Regions from separate parts of the Homo sapiens genome. Here all the other regions are linked to region 5. The links are contacts of gene promoters, found by promoter capture Hi-C in blood cells and fetal thymus (Javierre and others, 2016). All regions are on one chromosome and are shown on one strand. Each heading gives the region's core, a stretch centred on a gene start or on the middle of the fragment in contact. The rest is flanking DNA. Distances are from core to core; before and after follow the strand shown.

What was found. The method cuts DNA at HindIII sites, captures the fragments that hold promoters and counts their contacts. A CHiCAGO score of 5 or more calls a contact.
Region 1: a contact is called between a fragment that was not itself captured here and the fragment with the promoter of LINC02909 in region 5, in 1 of 17 cell types (neutrophils). The highest score is 7.5, in neutrophils.
Region 2: a contact is called between a fragment that was not itself captured here and the fragment with the promoter of LINC02909 in region 5, in 1 of 17 cell types (neutrophils). The highest score is 8.1, in neutrophils.
Region 3: a fragment that was not itself captured here is called in contact with the fragment with the promoter of LINC02909 in region 5 in 1 of 17 cell types (neutrophils); the score reaches 9.2 in neutrophils.
Region 4: a contact is called between a fragment that was not itself captured here and the fragment with the promoter of LINC02909 in region 5, in 1 of 17 cell types (neutrophils). The highest score is 6.0, in neutrophils.
Region 6: a contact is called between a fragment that was not itself captured here and the fragment with the promoter of LINC02909 in region 5, in 1 of 17 cell types (neutrophils). The highest score is 6.4, in neutrophils.
Region 7: a fragment that was not itself captured here is called in contact with the fragment with the promoter of LINC02909 in region 5 in 1 of 17 cell types (neutrophils); the score reaches 5.3 in neutrophils.

What each region holds. Positions count from the first base shown.
Region 1 is chr12:25,433,594-25,436,424 of GRCh38, forward strand. It overlaps the pseudogene FAM133GP. Among named protein-coding and RNA genes, the nearest start is that of LMNTD1, 120 kb to the right of the region's middle. The HindIII fragment of the contact is 4,168 bases long and covers 1-2,831 here.
Region 2 is chr12:25,359,287-25,362,024 of GRCh38, forward strand. No RefSeq gene overlaps it. Among named protein-coding and RNA genes, the nearest start is that of KRAS, 110 kb to the left of the region's middle. The HindIII fragment of the contact is 6,678 bases long and covers 1-2,738 here.
Region 3 is chr12:25,378,036-25,380,735 of GRCh38, forward strand. No RefSeq gene overlaps it. Among named protein-coding and RNA genes, the nearest start is that of KRAS, 130 kb to the left of the region's middle. The HindIII fragment of the contact is 2,413 bases long and covers 117-2,529 here.
Region 4 is chr12:25,257,325-25,260,234 of GRCh38, forward strand. No RefSeq gene overlaps it. Among named protein-coding and RNA genes, the nearest start is that of KRAS, 7.9 kb to the left of the region's middle. The HindIII fragment of the contact is 7,684 bases long and covers 1-2,910 here.
Region 5 is chr12:24,996,139-24,998,838 of GRCh38, forward strand. LINC02909 (long intergenic non-protein coding RNA 2909) reads right to left here and starts at 1,327. Exons shown (of 4, transcript NR_171024.1): 1 at 1,094-1,327; 2 at 59-201. It also overlaps a transcript of IRAG2 not described here. RefSeq lists enhancers at 1,886-2,015, 2,266-2,375. The HindIII fragment of the contact is 1,157 bases long and covers 925-2,081 here.
Region 6 is chr12:25,402,387-25,405,181 of GRCh38, forward strand. It overlaps the pseudogene RNU4-67P. Among named protein-coding and RNA genes, the nearest start is that of LMNTD1, 150 kb to the right of the region's middle. The HindIII fragment of the contact is 1,025 bases long and covers 1,014-2,038 here.
Region 7 is chr12:25,288,701-25,291,575 of GRCh38, forward strand. No RefSeq gene overlaps it. Among named protein-coding and RNA genes, the nearest start is that of KRAS, 39 kb to the left of the region's middle. The HindIII fragment of the contact is 2,217 bases long and covers 375-2,591 here.

The DNA.
Region 1 (2,831 bases), core at 231-2,730, 440 kb after region 5:
CCCACCAGTTGAGAGCTATAGTTTGAAGAATTCTCAAGCAAAGAGACTTTACCTGGTTGATGAGTTCAGAATTCAGATAAAGCCTTGAAAGTGGGAATGAGTCATTGTTGGTGCCTGATGGCTATAATTCTCGAAGGTAATCGGGTTTAAAAGCAGTTTTTTTGGTGAATGATGTCATCCTCCATAAAAGCAGATTTTAATTTCTTTTAAGATACCAGTGGAAGTTGTGACCCAGAAATGCCCCAATGAGACCTTACAGATGGCTATTTTCCTGTGCTGTTTGGCATATGTTCATGAAAACCACAGGGGAAAATTGGCTTTGACATGCTTGTGCTTTAAGGTATATGCTGCAGTACCTTGTAAAGGTTCATTTTATTGCCAAATATAACATTCAGTTACCAACTGGAAGTGTAAAAGTTCATATTTTCTTTTTTCTGTTTTTTTTTTTTTAACTTTTAAGACATTATATTTACTAAGATTCTGGCGATAGCTTTATGTAACAAGACACAGCATACCAGGCTTGCTACTCAACTTGTTTATGGTAAGTCTCAGCCTCAATATGAAGCTGTATTTTTTTTAAAAATCAAAACCCTGCTTTTTATATGCTCAATATCTTGGCAAGTGTGCCATTAAACACAGCAGTGAACTTAAGACAGCAAGAGAAAGGAGTTAACAAAAGCTAAACATTGCAGCCTAAACAAACTTCATACAAAAAATAAAGGAACTATCACTGGTTACATGGAATTTTCCTGACTAATTAAAACTTTATGGTATGAAACATGCACTTTAGAATATTTAGTTTTCAAGTTCAAAAAGTACCAGTGTACCAGTGTCTATTTGAAACCATTTCTCTCCAAAGCCAAAGTGTCATCAAAATTAATTCAAATGACCCAGCATATTCTAATGCTAAAAAATATTCAGTATTATTGAAGTGGAGGTAAATCCCAGGGGTTTTGGGGCTTTCTCATGCTGCAAAAGGGCTGTTTCTCTGGTTCATTCAAAGAAGCGTATGACAAAATCCAAGGATGTCCCTAAGCTCAGTAAAAGGCAAGACTCCTGGCACCCAGCTCTGACCTCTCCATAAAGCCTGGCTACTCTTTCCTCAAATACAGGAAGTGTGAGGATCAAAGGCATGTTGTTCTCCTAGCTTAAAGAGACAGCAAAGCACCTCCTCCCTGCATCCTAAAAAGCACCTTTCCCAGGTAAATAAAAGTCTACACGGGGAAAAAATTAAAATACACTGATCTACAGAGTACGGATTTTGAAATGTCAATGTAATCCTTACTTCAAAAATTTTAACTACTTTAAAATTTTTAACATCTGGCCGTTTCTGATTCCACCTTAAAGATGTATTCAAGTTGGATTTCTGTTGATTTATCATTGTACACTTCTAGTCAAAAATATTAATTTTATTCCCAAATATTGTAACCACTAGTGCTACTGCAATGTATTATCTCCCAGAGTTATCAAGCACTGGAAGAGAAAAGAATAGATAAGCAGCAGGCAACATTTACGGCCCTTGCACACAGCGGCATTTGAATAGCTACTGGGTAGTCTGGGGATAATTCTTTTTTTTTTTTTGAGATGGAGTCTTGCTCTTTTGCCCAGTCTGGAGTGCAGTGGCACCATCTCAGTTCACTGCAACCTCTGCCTCCCGGGTTCAAGTGATTCTCCTGCCTCAGCCTTCCAACTAGCTGGGATTACAGGCACCAGCCACCAGGCCCAGCTAATTTTTGTATTTTTAGTAGAGACGGGGTTTCACCCTGTTGGTCAGGCTGGTCTCAAACTCTTGACTTCAGGTGATTCACACGCCTTGGCCTCCCAAAGTGCTGGGATTACAGGCGTGAGCCACTGCGTCTGGCCAGTCCAAGGATAATTCTAAAAACAAGAAAATTCATGCATTATAGTAAATATGTTGTAATTTTCACAGTTGAAATTTCCTTAGACATTGTACTTTCTCTATAAGGGAATCCTGATTTTTCTTAATATTATGATGAGTCAGGACTTGAACTAGCAGCCTTCTTTCTCTTCTTACTGTTTTTCTCATGCTCCTTTTTCCTTTTTTTGTGTTGTTTTTTCTCATTCTTCACTGCTTTTCTTCTTTTTTGCTCTTATCTCCTCAATATACTCTGATTCTGACAAGGACTCAGGTGATAAAGATTTATCTTCAGAATATGGGTTTCTTTTTGCTGAGTCGTTTAATAGCCTTTTTCTTTCTCAGTTGGGTCCTTCTTTTTCTTTAAAAAGAAGTCTTTCTTCCTTATTGTCTTTCTATCCTTACTGTCTGATTCAGTTTCTGACATGGAGCTTTCAGAAGATTTATGTGAATGGTTCTTTTTCTTTCTCCCTTTTCCATGTTTCTTATCCTCATCCTCAGAATCAGAAGAACTGCTGGAAGAATCAGAGCATGATGAAGACGATGAATACCTACCAGATTTATTCTTTTTCTTTTTTTTTCTCTTTTTTTGGATAAGCTCTTACTTTCACTTAACAATTTCTTCCTGTGTTTTTCTAGTTTTTTCTTCAAATTCATACAAAGCCTTGGCGCCTTTTTCTTTTTCTTTTCTAGTTGCTCTTGCACTTCTTCCCAGATAGGCCTTGGTTGACGGAGAGAATCCTGGATTGTTGGCCCTTAAGACTGGATTGGACCCCTTGATCTGGCCATTGCTGTTGGATTCACATAGGCTACCCGATGGTCCTGCTTCTCCTTGGTGCCCGAGTGAGCGCACAGTCACTCATCAAGGGACACGGTCACCCACCAAGGGAAACCTGGCTCGGGAGGCAGCTGAAGTAGGCCTGCCGCAGGTCCTTCTGCACTAAAAGTTCGTATT
Region 2 (2,738 bases), core at 1-2,500, 360 kb after region 5:
TAACACAGGTGTTAGCCACTGTGCCCAGTCGGATTTCATCTCAATAACAATACAAAGAAAATGATTAAAGCTGCCACTTATAGATTGTGTTTGTAAGATATTGCAGCCTTACTCCCCCACCAACCCCACTTCCAGTGGTATATTTAAAATATCAGTAGTATTACTATTATTATTCTCTCTTTTTATTTTTTAGACCAGGTCTTACTCTGTCACCCAGGTTAGAGTGCAGTAGTGTGATCACTGCTCACTGTAGCCTCGACCTGCTGGGCTCAAGCAATCCTCCCAGTTCAGCCACCCGAGTACCTGAAACTATGTGTGTGCCACCATGTTTGGCTAATTAAAAAAAAAAAAATGTAGAGATGAGATCTTACTATGTTGCCCAGGTTGGTCTTGAACTCCTGAACTAAGAGATCCTCCTGCCTCAGCCTCCCAAAGTGCTAGGATTATAGATGTGAGCCATCGCACCTGGCCTACTCTAATTTTTTAATAAGAAAAGGAAATCAGAGAGAGAGCAATTTTTCCAAGGTGATATGAAGATTACAGATCAATTAACAGCTCTTGGTTTAGTCAGCTCTGCTGTTATTTCTCAACTCTTTGTTTCCCAGAGAAATCTATGTTCATCATTCTTCACATCATCACTGAAGATAGGAAGGTATTCACGTTCCTGATCCAGGACATGAGAGGGTATTTTGCATTAGTAGTTGCCAAACCACATGATTTCTTTCTCTTTTTTTCTTTTTGAGATGGAGTCTCGCTCTGTTGCCCAGGCCCAAGTGCAGTGGCGTGATCTCCACTCGCTGCAACATTTGCCTCCTGAGTTCAAGCAATTCTCCTGTCTCAGCCTCCTGGGTAGCTGGGATTACAGGCGCCCACCACCACGCCCAGCTTATTTTTGTGTTTTTAGTAGAGACAGGATTTCACCATGTTAGCCAGGCTGCAAACCACATGATTTCTGAGGTTTCTTATAAACTTGACATAACTTCAGGGGGAAAGCGTTTAGTACTATATAATACAATACATGATATATATGTAATTATATCTATATTATGTAGTATATAACATATATTAAATATATAACAAAGATTTATTTGGTAATATATAATATAGATTTACTCAGTTTTAATATCTTTTTTTTTTTTTGAGACAGAGTCTCGCTCTGTTGCCAGGCTGGAGTGCAGTGGCACAATCTCGGCTCACTGCAAGCTCCGCCTCCCATGTTCACACCATTCTCCTGCCTCAGCCTCCCGAGTAGCTGGGACTACAGGTGCCCGCCACCATGCCCAGCTAACTTTTTGCCCAGGGGTTTAGTAGAGAGGGGTTTTCACCGTGTTAGCCAGGATGGTCTCAATCTCCTGACCTCGTGATCTGCCCTCCTTGGCCTCCCAAAGTGCTGGGATTACAGGCGTGAGCCACTATGCCCGGCCCAGTTTTAATATCTTATCAAATGCTACCTATTTGTTATAAAATATATGAACAATATAAAATGTGGTGAACACAAAAATTAGGGTAGATGCTCTACTTCATACAGATTTTTCTCGGTGACCATGTCAGAGCCAGTTTCTTGCTCCCTTTTCTGAAGAACCATTTATTTCCCTTTCAATTTTGCTTCTAGGTCGGAACCGCCCTGTTTTTACATGACCCCACATCCCCAGCCACAGGGAAAGATCAAGGAGAGGGCATGCGAATCAATCTGGGCAATGAGAGTACTTACATTCTTGGTCACGGTAATTGGGGGCAGAAATGGACCTGTGGCCCAAGCCAGGTCAATCACAATCCTTTCCTGAGATTTTTACTGACTCAACATGGGGAGGAAGAATTTTCTTCTCAAATGCTGTTAAGATGTGAGCCTAGAACCTGCCAGCAGTGGCCATGTCTCCACTGGGTGAAGAAAGCAAGTCCACAGTTAAGGAGGAATAAAGCTGAAAGCTAGAAAGAAAAATAGCAGTGAGTCTTGATGGCATTTAGATCCTTGGTTTTAGAGATGCCTCAGGACAGCTTCACCTATGCCCTTCCTACATTTGGGTACATGACCTAATAAATTCCCACTTGCTTTTGCTAGCTCAAATAGCATTCCTTTCATTTGTAGCCAAAAATTTCTGATTAGTACAATTAATGTCTAAAGTTGAAAGTGAAATTTTCCCAACCACTTCTCAAAATGTACTAATCAGAGTTTAAGGATACTAGTAACAAGAGCCTAGTCTGATCCATCTTGAACAAATAGGGAAAATTATTTGCTTACATAACCAAGACTTCAGAGAGGTAAGAGTGGGACCTGGTTCCCTGGGAAGCAGGGCCTCATGACTGGCTCTGTCTCATCTCCACTTATCTCTGCATGTTAGCTTTGTTATCTCAGACTGGTTCTCTTCCACTGGGAATGAGAAGGGCCACCAGCAGCTCAAGAATCATCTTGGTGACTATAGAGGGAAGAAATCTTGCTCTCCTTAGAGGAAGTAAATTGGCAGAACCCTCAGAAAGCACTCTGATTAGTCTGGCTTGGGTCACACGCTAATCTCTAGACTAATCACTATGACCAGGAGTTCTCGGGTGGCACAATTGGCTGACTGCTGCAGCCAGAGGAATAGAATTGAAAGAAAGATGGCCATCCCCATTTGGACCAATTGACAAGAGTAGAAAGAGGAACAGTTTTTCAGATACAGAGGGCTGCTGTCCGAGAGAAAGGTGTGAAACAAATACCAATAAATGTTCACAATTCCCTTTGTTAATAGTTTGGTGCATTT
Region 3 (2,700 bases), core at 73-2,572, 380 kb after region 5:
CCACATCCAATTGTCAATAAGTCCTCACTATTTTACCTCAGAAATTTCTCTGATATCTTGACCCTTTCTCTCTCACTCCATAGCCACTACCCTAATCTTCTAAGTCTGTGTTTTTAAGCTTTCTTCAACCATGACCCACGGTAAGAAATACATTTTGCATTGTGACACAAGAAATGCATTCTGGGCTGGATGTGGTGGCTCACGCCTCTAATTCCAGCACGTTGGGAGGCGAGGCGGGCGGATCACTTGAGGTCAGTAGTCCAAGACCAGCCTGGCCAACATGGCAAAACCCAGTCTCTACTAAAAATACAAAAATTAGACAGGCGTGGTGGCTGGCACCTGTAATCCCAGGTACTTGGGAGGCTGAGGCACGAGAATTGCTTGAACCCGGGAGGCAGAGGTAGTAGTAAGCCGAGATGGCGCCACTGCACTCCCAGCCTGGGCAACAGAGCGAGACAAAAAAGAGAGAAGGGAAGGGAAGGGAAGTGTAGGGTAGGGTAGGAGGGGAGGGGAGGATTCTGTGAAAGCAAAATATCTTAGGCCTCCAAAATCACTATGGAGAACTCAAGCTGGAAACTACTTAGGGCAAACCTGCCTCTCATTCTATTCAAAGTCACCCCTTTGCTCACTGAGATAGATGCATATCTAATTGCCTCCTTTGGGAAGGCTAATCAGAACCTCAAAAGAATGTAACTGTTTGTGTATCACCTATCTGTGACCTGGAAGCTCTCTCCCCACTTCCAGTCCTCCTGCCTTTGCTTCAAGTTGTCCTGCCTTTCCAGACTGACCCAATGTACTTCTTACATACATTGATTGATGTCTCATGTCTTCCTAAAATGCATCAAACCAAGCTGTGCCCTGACCACCTTGGGTACATGTTGTCAGGACCTCCTGAGGCTGTGTCATGGGTGCGTCTTCAACCTTGCCAAAATAAACTTTCTAAATTATTTGAGACCTGTCTCAAATTTTCGGGGTTCATAATTCTGAAGTTCAGATTTTTAATAAAGTCACTTTTATATAAAACACAATTTTGTAAAATGTAGCCAAGAGGGAATCTACTCAAGATTTAAATCCAACAATTAACTATCCATGTTTTCCTCATTTTAACATTATACTTCATGGTTTCAATCTTGTCATACTTTTTATCCAAAATGACAGTGTCTATGTTGAAAGTTAACGTTTCTGTAGTTAAACATGCTAAATTTTAAGTAAGCTCACTTTCTTCATTTTAAATAGTTAAATCTATCATAGAGGAGAGTTTATTAAAAATTTAAACTGCCCAGAAAGTTTATGCATAACCTGTAATTATGAATACATAAAATGGGAGATGGATGAAACAACATTTTTTGGTTGTGACCCACTAAAATCATTTCAGGATTCACTAACGGGTTGTGAACCACAGTTTGAAAAACCCCTGTTCTAGGCTCTCGTGATCACTTGTCTAAGTTACAGTTACTTCCCATCTTGTCTCTTTGTCTCCAGTCTGGCTTCTGTGCAGCTACCTTTCTGAAAAAAGACAGCTCTAACCCTGTCACTTTTTTCTTAGAAAAAAAAAATGTCCTTGGAGCCTGACTCATTATTACCTGTAAAGTAAAATCCATATTTCTTTTCTTTCTTTCTTTTTTCTTTTCTTTTCTTTTTTTTTTTTTTTTTTTTTGAGACAGAGTCTCACTCTGTTGCCCAGGCTGGAGTTCAGTAGTGCAATCTCGGCTCACTGCAAACTCCACGTCCCAGGTTCAAGTGATTCTCCTGCCACAGCCTCCTAAGTAGCTGGGACTACAGGCATGTGCCACCATACCCGACTAATTTTTTGTATTTTTAGTAGAGATGGGGTTTCGCCATGTTGGCTAGGCTGGTCTTCAACTCTTGACCTCAAGTGATCCACCCGCCTCGGCCTCCCAAAGTGCTGGGATTACATGTGTGAGCCATCACGCCTGGCCAAAATCCATATTTCATAGCATGATATCTAGGGTCCTCCACAACCAGCCCCACTGTAATATTTCACCCTTATCTCTACCCAGTGCCCTCACTCTCCACTACACCTCACTTCCATGAACTTTCCCCCCACTTGCTAACTCTCCTATCTCCATCTTTTCACCACTGCTGTTCCCTCCACTTGACATGCCCTTCCCCTCCGGATAGGTCTGTTAATCCTACTTTATTCTTCCATAGCCAAGTATCAATGGCATTATTTCTTTATACCTTCTCCACCTTCACCCTCACCTCTGAGAGTCTCGCAGATTAATTGCTCCCTCATTCAACATAGGTACCATCATGTTGGACACAAAGTACGACAGGGTTGAAACCATAAAGTGCAATGTAGGGTTTATTACCTGGAAAATAAATGACAAAAAAAAATGGAGAGTTAATTGTTGTATTTAAATCTTGAGTAGATTCCCTCTCTTAGTTGCATTTTGCGAATTGTTCACATCGCATATAAAAGTGACTTTATTAAAATTTGAACTGCAAAATGCATTTCTTGTGTCACAATGTAAAATGTATTTCTTACCATGCCTCATGGTCGAAGAAAGCTTAAAAACACAGAAGATTAGGGCAGTGGCTACAGGGTAAGAGAGAAGGGTCAAATCAGAGAAATTTCCGAGGTAAAATAATCAGGACTTATTAAGGACTCGTTAAGCCTTGACAATTTTGGCATTTATCATAGTTGGCTTTATATGAATTTTAATAGGTACCTGTGTC
Region 4 (2,910 bases), core at 337-2,836, 260 kb after region 5:
AGTGGCCTGTGTTATTCTTTTATTTAGCGCTTATCATATCTGAAGTTATCTTGATCATTTATTGACTGCTTGCCTGTTTCCTCCCCTGAAATATAAATTTCATGAGCCAGGGACCACTGAATCCTCAACGTCCAGAAAGAGCCTGGCACATAGTAGTCACTTAATAAAGATTTGTTGATAAGTTGCCATAAAGAAAATAATAGGACGAATAATCCACTCTAAGTGAGGTCTCTGCAAGTCAATTTAGATCTCTTGGCTTTGCTTCTATCTACATAATACAATAGTACTTCATTTAGGCCAGGCATGGTGGCTCATGCCTATAATCCCAGCACTTTGGGAGGCCAAGGCAAGAGAATCGCTGGAGTCCAGGAGTTTGAGACCAACCTGGCAATGTGGTAACATGGCAAAACGCCATCTCTACAAAAAATACAAAAATTAACCAGGCATGGTAGCATGCGCCTGTAGTCCCAGCTTTGGGGGAGGGGGGATTGCTTGAGCCCAGGAGGTCAAGGCTAAAGTGAGCTGAGATCACGCTACTGCATTCCAGCCTGGGCGATGAATGAGACCTAGTTTGAAAAAAAAAAAAAAGTGCTTTAGTGCTTGGTTTTGTTTTTAAGGATATCAGAAATCAGAAGTATTTTTAAAAATCATTTCCTTCTAATTCCCCAAGCATGTGCTAATTGGACTCCCTGCTGATTACAAGCCTGATTTTCCTACTTTCTGTCTCTTCTCTCTAATCACAGTTGTTGGATATGTTGTCAGGTGCTTCTAGTTCATTCATGGTGATATGTATTCAAATAGAGCTTTATTTGTGCACATCAGTTTAACATTATGGAGTCTAGGGGCATTAACCCTTTGGGCCCAGACATCTCATTTAGGATCCACATGTCCTCAGTTGAATAAGGCAAGTCACCTTTGAGGTAAATTCTTTTTGGAAGATTGTTCTGCCTTGTCAATAATTTTTTATATTAGAAGTCTATAAATGTAGAGAGGTGGTAAATGGAAGTATAAATGATTATTTCACTTTAATCTGAATTATTTTCATAAATAGTTGTAATGCCTGCATAAATTAATTCTATCTTAATGTATGAAAACCTCAACAAACTCAAACATTACCATTTGTTACAGGCCCTTAAGAAGCCAATATTAGCAGGCTAGGCACGGTAGCTCACACCTGTAATCCCAGCACTTTGAAAGGCCGAGGCCGGCGGATCCTTGAGGTAAGAAGTTCAAGACCAGCCTGGCTACATGGTGAAACCCCGTCTCTACTAAAAATACAAAAATTAGCTGGGCGTGGTGGTGGACGCTTGTAATCCCAGCTACTAGGGAGGCTGAGGCAGGAGAATTGCTTGAATCCAGGAGGTGAAGGTTGCTATGAGCCAAGATTGTGCCACTACACTCCAGCCTGGGCGACAGGGCAAGACTCTAAAAAAAAAAAAAAGAAGCCAATATTCAATATTAGCTAATCTAATATGTTAATAACATTTTATTCATTCAGTCAGTCAATAGGTATTTCTTTACTGAGCCCTTACTATATGCCCGGTATCATCTTTGATATTTGGGATGCATTGGTATACCAAACAGACACATATCTCTGCTATCTTGGAAGTCACATTCTAAGGCAGTGCTCCTCAGACTTTTTGATGTCAGGATCATTTCACATATTTAGAAGTTATTTGTTTAAAATAATAATAAACCCATCACATATTAACATAAATAACATTATGAAAATAATTATATTTTTAAAAATATGTAATGAGAAGAGTGGCATCGTTTTAACATATTTGCAAATCCTTAATGCCTTGTTTAATAGAAGAGGCTAGATTCTCAAATCTGCTCCTGTATTCTCTCTGTTATATCACATATAACCTCTGGAAAACTCCACTGTACACTCATGAGAGAAATGAAAATGAAAAAGGAAAATAACATCTCACATCTCAGTATTATTATGATTAGAGATTTGACCTTCCAGACCTCCTGAAAAGGTCTTGGAACCCCCCACCTCTGAACAAGGGTGCCTGTAGAACACTGAGAACTGCTGTTCTAAAGAATTTTTTATCAATTTTTTTTTTTTTTGCTAATGAAACAGGGCCAAATTGAATAAAGACCAATGCAATAATTAGCTTTTCCAAAACTATTGTTTTACTCCTCAGAACAGGTTATCTGATTCCCTCTTAGACAGTATCTATTGATAATGGTAACCAGGATAAATTATTGTTAAGATAATATACAAAGTAAAACAGATGCCCGAAATGATGCACTTTTTTGCAATAACTGAAATTTCTTGTTTTTAGGTCAGTCTTGTGTTCTTCAGCATCTTGAAGTACTTTACAAATTTTAATTAATTGAACTTCCCAAGATGCCAATAAAATGTTTCCAAATACAAATTTTGTGCACTTTGTAAACAGTTTGACAGGGTAACAGGGCTTGTCCTAGCTTGAAGGAAAGCTGTGAGCAAAACCAAAGAATTATTGTGTATTTATTGTGACTATAAACACACTATATTGTCTCCAGACTTTTTTTTTTTTTTGAGACAGAGTTTCCCTCTTGTCGCCCAAGCTAGAGTGAAATGGCGCAATGTCAGCTTACTGCAACCTCCACCTCCCAGGTCCAAGTGATTCTCCTCCCTCAGCCTCCCACATAGCTAGGATTACAGGCACCCGCCACCACGCCCAGCTAATTTTTGCATTTGTAGTAGAGATGGGGTTTCACCAGGTTGGCCAGGCTGGTCTCGAACTCCTGACCTCAGGTGATCCACCCGCTTCAGCCTCCCAAAGTGCTGTGATTACAGGCGTGAGCCACCGCACCCGGCCTAGACTGTTTTAATTTACCATGTTTGTCAGGAGAATGGACTATGTTGTTATAATGAAAGTTACTGCTCTCAATGTCTTGACAATATTTTATCTTTCA
Region 5 (2,700 bases), core at 77-2,576:
TTATTGTTCAGGTTATTCCTTTCACTGCTCTGAGAAACATCAGGTATACTAGACTCACCTGAAGCAGGATGTAAGCGTATAATTTGTCAGACGGGCAATATGGTCTAGTGGATCCAGAATTTGAATATTATTTCTGGCTCTGCTGCTGGCTTCCTTTATGACTAGGAGGGAAATGTCTCTGGGTGTTGCCAGTTTCGGTATCTGTGGATTGATAAGCAGATCGCAAGCATGGATGTTATAATAGGTTATTTCATGGGAAATTAAACAGCAAATCTAATGAGAGGAGCGGGTTACTTGGTCATTTCTTTCTAGGTGCTATTTGGTGCTTTAAGAGGACCTCTAGTATTGGATAAGTTAAAGGAGTTTCAGAAAGTGCATCATAACAACATTACTGAGAGCTCAGAATGTGCTACATGGTTCTGAGGGCCATCTGCGTATTAACCTCATTTAATCCCTGCAGCACACCCGGAGGTCATTGCATGATATTGATGCAATTTTACAGATGAAGAAACTGAAGCACATATGGTTAAATAATTTGTCCAAGATCACAAAGCTAGTAAGCAGCAGAACTGGGGTTTGAACTCAGGTTATTTAAACTCAGAGCCCCAGTTCTTATTCCCCAGTATTTGACTCCCCTTTGCTCTCACCTGGTGATAGAAATGATAATGACCAGGCTGAGCGCAATGGCTCACACCTGTAATCCCAGCACCTTGGGAGACTGAGGCAGGTAGATCGCTTGAGCTCAGGAGTTTGAGACCAGCCTGGGCAACACAACAAAACCCCATCTCTACAAAAGATACAAAAATTAGCTGGCTGTGGTGGCATGCCCCTGTCATTTCAGTTACTTGGCAGGCTGAGGTGGGGGAGTGGCTTGAGCCCAGTAGGCAGAGATTGAAGTGAGCTGAGATCGTGCCACTGCACTCAAGCTTGGGCAACAAAGCAACACTCCATTTCCAAAAAACAAAAGAAAAAGTATGAGATTTAACTTAAAAATAATTTTCCTTCATCTGATTAGAAAGTATAATCAGGATGAGCTTTAGTGTGTTGTTTTTTGTAGAGCCGGGCGGGGACCGGGGGTGGGGGGGGGTCTCACCATGTTGCCCAGGCTGGTCTTGAACTCCTGGGCTCAAGCGATCCTCCCACCTCAGCCTCCCAAAGTGCTGGGATTACAGGTGAAAGACACTGCACCTGGACTATCTTTCTGTTATTGCTGTGGTGGGGAGCACACCAAAATAGTGCCTGTCATCCTCATCCTTCCTAGGCATCTTTCCCAGCACTGCTGCTGTGATTAGTACCTTAACTCCAGCCTAGGCAGGTGCAGTGCATCAGCGGCTCTCTTCTCTAGCTTCTTTTACCTCAGCCCAAGCCACTCTGTAGAAATGGGCTCCACCCATGTCATCTGACCTGTAGGTCTCCACTCTTTCTTCCCAGTTCTCAGATGGTTCTTGGAGCACTGGCGAAGTCAAGCGAAAATAAGGTGGTGAGTTTTCCCCAACGAAATAATTAAATTTTGGCTGATGCTGGCCTTTAGTCATCGAAGGCCGAGAAAGTACCGCCCTAACCAGGGAAAAGCAATATCAGATGTAGGCTGTTCTGTTGTGTCTCAACCTCAAAATGCTTGTGGCAAAAGGGACAAACCTCCAATAAGTCTATATTAGAGGTTCAACAGAGTTCATTGAAAACTTGAAACAAATCTGAAAAGAAAAACACTCTACAAATAGGGAAAAAAGATGGGTAGCTGAGAGTGATAAAGTGAGATTCCCCAGATATGTTGCTGTCACCACAGGCAAATCTCAAATTGTTTTCAATGGAGCTTTTGGAAATTTAAATTAATCCTGCCATTTTCAGGCTTGGTCGTTTGGAATGTGTGTTAGTGAAACGCAGTGATGTAGTTTTATAGACTGTAAGAACCTTGGAGGCACCTGAATTCTTGAAGCTAGAGATTTATTGTAGGTCTTCTCTTGTTCTCTGAGAAGAAAACCAGACTTCATATAACAAGAAGTGAGACAGAAGAACAGTTTTCAGAAGCATGTGTCACTCTGCTATTTTAGGAATTGTTCCAATAAGAGATGTTTATAGTAAGCTTGGTGTGACCCAGCCAAGAAGCTTAATATAACAAGGTTAACTGAATTGTGGGAGGAAAGTTTCTAGCCTATACCAGCTTGCATTTATTAATAATCAGAAAGGTTGCGGATGACAGACTTGCTGAGCATTTACTAAATCTGGTACTTGTGGTTTGCAAATCATGTGATTAACAGCTGCTATCATCTATCCTAGAAACGGCAGGAAGAAGTGTTATTATTTTATCACATAAAATAGTAGTCACAAAGAGAATGAAAACAGTTTAATTTGGCAGATATAAAATTCACTGGTTAAGCAGAAAACCATGCTCTGCCCTCCCACTGAGCTCACTAAAGATGGGTTTCCTGGGAATGTCTCAGTGAACAGATGTTTCTTCTTAGGTTTTGATGAAGAGTTTAGTGGCATCTAATCATTAGTGAAGGGTTGTTTTGGCAAAAGGAATCTCTTGTCTATCTACACACATACTTAAATTTTTTTTTTTACGTATATTAAGGATTTTGCATTAATTACCAATAGGATCTCACATAGATGAATCATGAATGATTGACTGGCTTTCCTAATCAAGTTTTGAATGATTTTAAAAATCAGCCTGCCTGATCTAAGGTTTGGAAGTTCAAT
Region 6 (2,795 bases), core at 276-2,775, 410 kb after region 5:
CTTACTTCAATCTGGACTGGTTGCTCTCTCAACCAGCCTGCTGTATAGTTTTCTTTTTTCAAGACAGAGTCTTACTCTGTCACCCAGGCTGGAGTGCAGTGGCACAATCTCGGCTCACTACAACCTCTGCCTCCTGGGTTCAAGCAAATCTCCTGCCTCAGCCTCCCAAGTAGCTGGCATTACAGGCGCCTGCCACCACATCCGGTAAGTTTTGTATTTTTAGTAGAGATGGGGTTTCATCATGTTGCCCAGGCTGGTCTCAAACTCCTGACCTTGTGATCTGCTCTCCTCAGCCCCCCAAAGTGTTGATATTACAGGCATGAGCCACTGCGCCCAGTCTTCCTGTTGTACAGTTCTTATCCTGGGATCTTCCTTCACTTTCATACTGAGTATTCTGTTTGCTTTTCCTTACAGTTTATTGGCTTGCTGGTATTGGCGGGACCACTTCCTGTAGTATCTTCTTGGAAAAAGTAAATGATAATTAAATCTTTTGAGACCTCACAAGTTTGAGAATTTCTTATTCTATCATTGCATTTACTTGATAATTTGGCGAGGTATAGAATGCTGGGTTTGAAATAATTTTTCCTCAGTACTGTGAAAGCTGCTTACAATTTTTTTTTTTTTTTTTGAGATGGAGTATGGCTCTGTTGCCTAGGCTGGAGTGCAGTGGCGCAATCTTGGCTCACTGCAAGCTCTGCCTCCTGGGTTCACATCATTCTCCTGCCTCAGCCTCTCAAGTAGCTGTGACTACAGGTGCCCGCCACCACGCTCGGCTAATTTTTTTTGTATATTTTTTAGTAGAGACGGGTTTCACCATGTTAGCCAGGATGGTCTTGATCTCCTGACCTTGTGATCTGCCTGCCTCAGCCTCCCAAAGTGCTGGGATTACAGGCGTGAGCCACCACACCTGGCCGCTGCTTACTATGTTTGAGCCTTAAAGCTGCTGTTGAGAGACCAGTGACATTCTAATTTCTGATGCTGTATATTTGACTTGTATTGTTTTCTGTACTGAAAGCTTTAGGGTATTCTCTTTGTCCTAGTGATATGAAATTTCAGAAATTATGCATTTTCCCATCTATTAAATGGGTATTTGACAGGTCCTCTTAATGTGGAAAGATATTCTTTAGATGTAGGAAATTGTCTTCAATTTCTGAAAAATAATCTTTTAAATTTAGTTTTCTCTTTCTGGGACTACTCTTAGTCATATGCCTGTCAGTACTTGTAGGTCATTTTCCTTGGGGTGATCAGTTTCCCAAAATAGGAATTCTCTGGGAGTGAAATGCCAGGCTGCTAGTGTTTTGAGGGCCCAATAAAAGAAAATGGCTGTGAAATTTCACCATTCAATATGTGAACACTCAACCATGCATCAACTGAAAGTGGAAGGCTCAAATTCAGAGACTGTCTCTCTGGTTCAACTTCACCAGAGAATAAGTTTCTCATCATACAGCTTAGAGGGCAAAGAAATCATTTGGCTGTCTAGGGTACAGGAGGAGACATGGAGGTCACGTGGCTTCCTATAGACTTTCAACCAATTCTACTATTCTTGGTCACACCCTCACCTCCATGAAAGTTACCATGTACTTCCAAGTTCTGAACTTTTCCAGGGTCCTAGGGTTTGCTTTTTGTTGGCATTCCCTCACTGCCTGGTTTAGATTTCCTCTTCCTCAGGTTTCTTAAGTCAGTTACCATATATGCAATTGCTTTCTTTCATTAAAAAATTTCTATGCATCTGTCTCCACTACCATTTTTTCCTTGTAATATTTTACTTTTTGAACTCTTTACTCTTATTTGAGTATGATTAAGAGAGAAGAGAGAATAGAAGTTTAAAGAAGCTGTATTTACTATGTCTTTAATTATTACAAGGCTATATGTAATATATATATACACAATATTATATTCAGTCTCCGTAGAGACTGTCAAAAATTGCTAATGCCAACTATATTACAAGTCTTCATGGCAGGATATTGGGAAATGTTTTCAATTAGCAATAATTGTGCCTCGGATAAACCTCATTGGCTATGATACTGCCACTGTGCAAAGCTTATATGTAATACTTTAAATGTGGATTATGAGAGACTATAAGAAGAAACATTTTCAGTTGCATGAAATAAATAATCTGAACAAGAATCTTTGCCTCCTGTTATCTGAGATTTTTCATGTAAATATGCATTTTATAGCTGGAAGACCACATAGCTTTACCACTTAGATTCATTGTTTAGCATATTTGGCAGTAAAAAACACAAAAGAAAAATGTTAAAAGTTACCATTCATACTCCCACCGTTTAAAAAGAATAATTTATTATACAAAGTAAAAAGTAAAAGTACAATTCCCACTTCCAGGAAGATGGAGTAGATATTCTTTTCCCTGTTCTTCTCACTAAGAACAACTGAAAACCCTGAATATTATATACAAAACAAACATAAGAGAAGACTGACGCTGGGAGAGAGGAAAGCAGACTGGCCAGGGACCTAGGAACCTGAGGATCAACATACTGGTGAGTTTCCCGGGGTTTTGTTTTTGGCTTATATATCCCAGCCCTGGAGCTTCAAAACCTGGCTACCCAGAAACATTAACTGGCATCGACAAAGCAAACAAACAAACAAACAATCCCAATAAAAGCCTGCTCTCTCTAGCCAAAGAAGTAGGAAAGAGGCAACCTACCAAAACAGAAATCTTTAAGACAATATTTACCCTACTATAGCCAAACACCACAGAAAAAACTGTGTCCCCACCCTCACTTGTGCCAGCGGAGGCCACGTGACAGAGCCTAGCCTTCCTGCCTCAAGAGGCTGTC
Region 7 (2,875 bases), core at 233-2,732, 290 kb after region 5:
TCTAAAATTATATGAAATTATATGAAAATACAAAAGATCTTGAAGCAGAGTAAACTTGAAAAATAAATTGAAGCATTTATACTGCATGATTTCGAGACTTACTATAAAGCTACAATAATCAATAAATTATGGTCCTGGCATAAATATGAACAAATAGATCAATGGGATGAAATTGAAAGCCCAGAAATAGATCTACGTATAGAGAATCATTTTAAAAAATGACCAAAGCAATACTATGGGAATACATTTTTCTCAACCAACTTTTGAAATAACTATCAATATAGCAAAAATGAATCTCAACCTCTACCTCACACTGTACACAAAAACTAAATTAAGTTGGGTTATAGTTCTAAACATGAAAGCAAAAACCATAAAGCTTTCAAAGGAAAACAGGAGAATATCTTTGTGCCTTAGAAACAGCTTTCTTAGACATGATATGGAAAGCAATAACCCAAAAATAAAAATTGGATAAACTAGACTTTATGAAGTTAAAAACCTTCAATTATTAAAAAAAATCATCATTAGGAAAATAAGTAGGCAAGTCACAGACTGGGGAAAATGTTTTTAAAATTCTTTGACAAAGGACTGGTAACCAGGATTATAAAGAAATCCTACAACTCAATAATAAAAAGGCAAATATTCGAACAGACACATCATGAAAGGAAGTATACAAATACATAATAAATGTATATGAGAAAAAGCTCAACATTGTCAGTTTCCAGGGAAATGCAAATTAAAAAACGAGAGGCCCCCACATACCTATCAGAATGGCTAAAATTAAAAAGACTAACAACATCGAATGTTGAAGGGTATGTGGAGCAACTGGAACTCTCATACATTGGTAGAGAAGTGTAAAATAGTACAACCACTTTGAGAAGAGGTTTGGTTATTACTTAGAAAGTTAAACATAAACCTATCATATGACCCAGCAATTTCACTAGTATTTACCCCAAGAGAATGAAAACATATGTCCAAATAAAGATGTGTACAAGAATGTTCACAATAGCTTTATTTGTGATAGCCAAACACTGGGAACAGCTTAAGTATCCGTCAACAGGAGAATGGATAATCAAACTGTGATATATTCATACAAAGGAATACAACTCAGCAATTAGAAAGGAATGAACTGATACACTCAACTGTACTCAAAAACACTATGCTAGGTGAGAGAAGAGTGCATGCTGTGTGATTCCTTTTACGTGAGACTAATCTCATCTCTGGGAAAAAAATTTGAACAGTGGTTACCTCTGGAAGACAGACTGGGTTTGACTGGGAAAGGCTATGAAGAAAATCGTGGAAGTATGGTAAAGTTCTGTATCTCAACACGAGTTTTAATCACACAGCTGTGTATATTTGTCAAAATTCAGTGAATGGTACACTTAGGATTTATGCATTTTACTGTATGTAAATTTTTACTACAAAAAAGAAGATAAAAGGCCATAAATAGATATTGATCTCTAGTTAAATATATGCATGCTGAAGTGTTTAGGGGAAAGACCATTGGTGACTGCAATTTACTTTGATAGAAGAATAGATAGAAGGGTAGATATATGATAAAGTAAATACAGTAAAATAAAAAAATCTAGGTAGTGGACACTTGGATGCTCACTGTAACATTATTTAAAACATTGTTTGAAAATATTCAAAATAAAATGTTGGGGAAAATAGCATGGAGACGTGAAGGATGTGGGGAATCTCAGGTGGTGTTCAGTGGCTGGAACATGAGGTAGTTTGGCAAAAGATGAAGTGGGAAAGGCAATCAGAACTCTGATTGTGAAGGGCGTTTCATGTCATGCTTAGGAATTTATATTTTATCCTGTGCAGCAATATTGCTCAACTCTTTCTACTCTCATTGTTACCATCTTCAGTCATACCCTCATTAACCTTCATCTGGGCTTTTACAATGTATTTATTTTATCAAATTGGATTGAACTGAATAAGATACAAAGGATGCACTTATATTTCCTGTGAGTTTACATAATTTTTCCTGCTTTAATGTCAGGCAACTTTGAGATTTTTTTGCATGTAAATAGAAATTACTGTTTGAATGCATTTCCAATGGAGGGTAGCTTCCAAATTGCATCTTTGTTTCTAGGCCTTAGGGCCTTACTTTGAATGTATCCCCAAATAAACAAGGAGCAGACTTCACATGTAAGTTTTACAAATAGGCAATGAGCAATGAATTCACTTTATGTTTCTCAGTATAAAATATTTAAGCAAATGTTGAATACAAAAGACTGTAAAAACACTAGGGGGTTGCAGAAAGTACCTAATTATAAATGATAACCCTTGCCTCCAAGGTTTTGACAGTCAAAATACCTACATTTTATGAAACACAAATAGAATTCTTTGAAATTTATGCTTTGTTAGCTGTAAAGACATGTATTTGCTAGATTCTGTGGGTTTCCCTCCTCTCATTTTTCTATTCCCATTTGATAATGAGATAACTATTTGCAAAGGTGTAATGGTAGATGATATCATAGGTTTGGCCACATTAAGTGTTTACCATCTATGGAGATAAAGCAAAAGGACTGAGCAAGCCTTCTATTTCCCAACAGTTCCCTCCAAACTGCAAACTGACTTCCGCAAGAAGCTTTTAAGAAAATAATTCTTAAAACACAGTATTAATTATGTTCCAGACCATTTCTCCCTTTAAAAAAAATTTGGCTTTCCATTTATTTTATTTTTTTATTTTTCTTTCTTTCTTCTTGTAGCATCTTTTCTGATTTGGGTGATTTTTAAAGTATGGGTATCCCTCAGGAGATTTACTTTTCCAAATCTACTGAGTAAAACATCTATCTGTTCAAGAGAATCTAGTCCATTTTTATTAAATTTTATATTCCCAGAGTTTTGCCTAGTGCCTGACATGAAATAT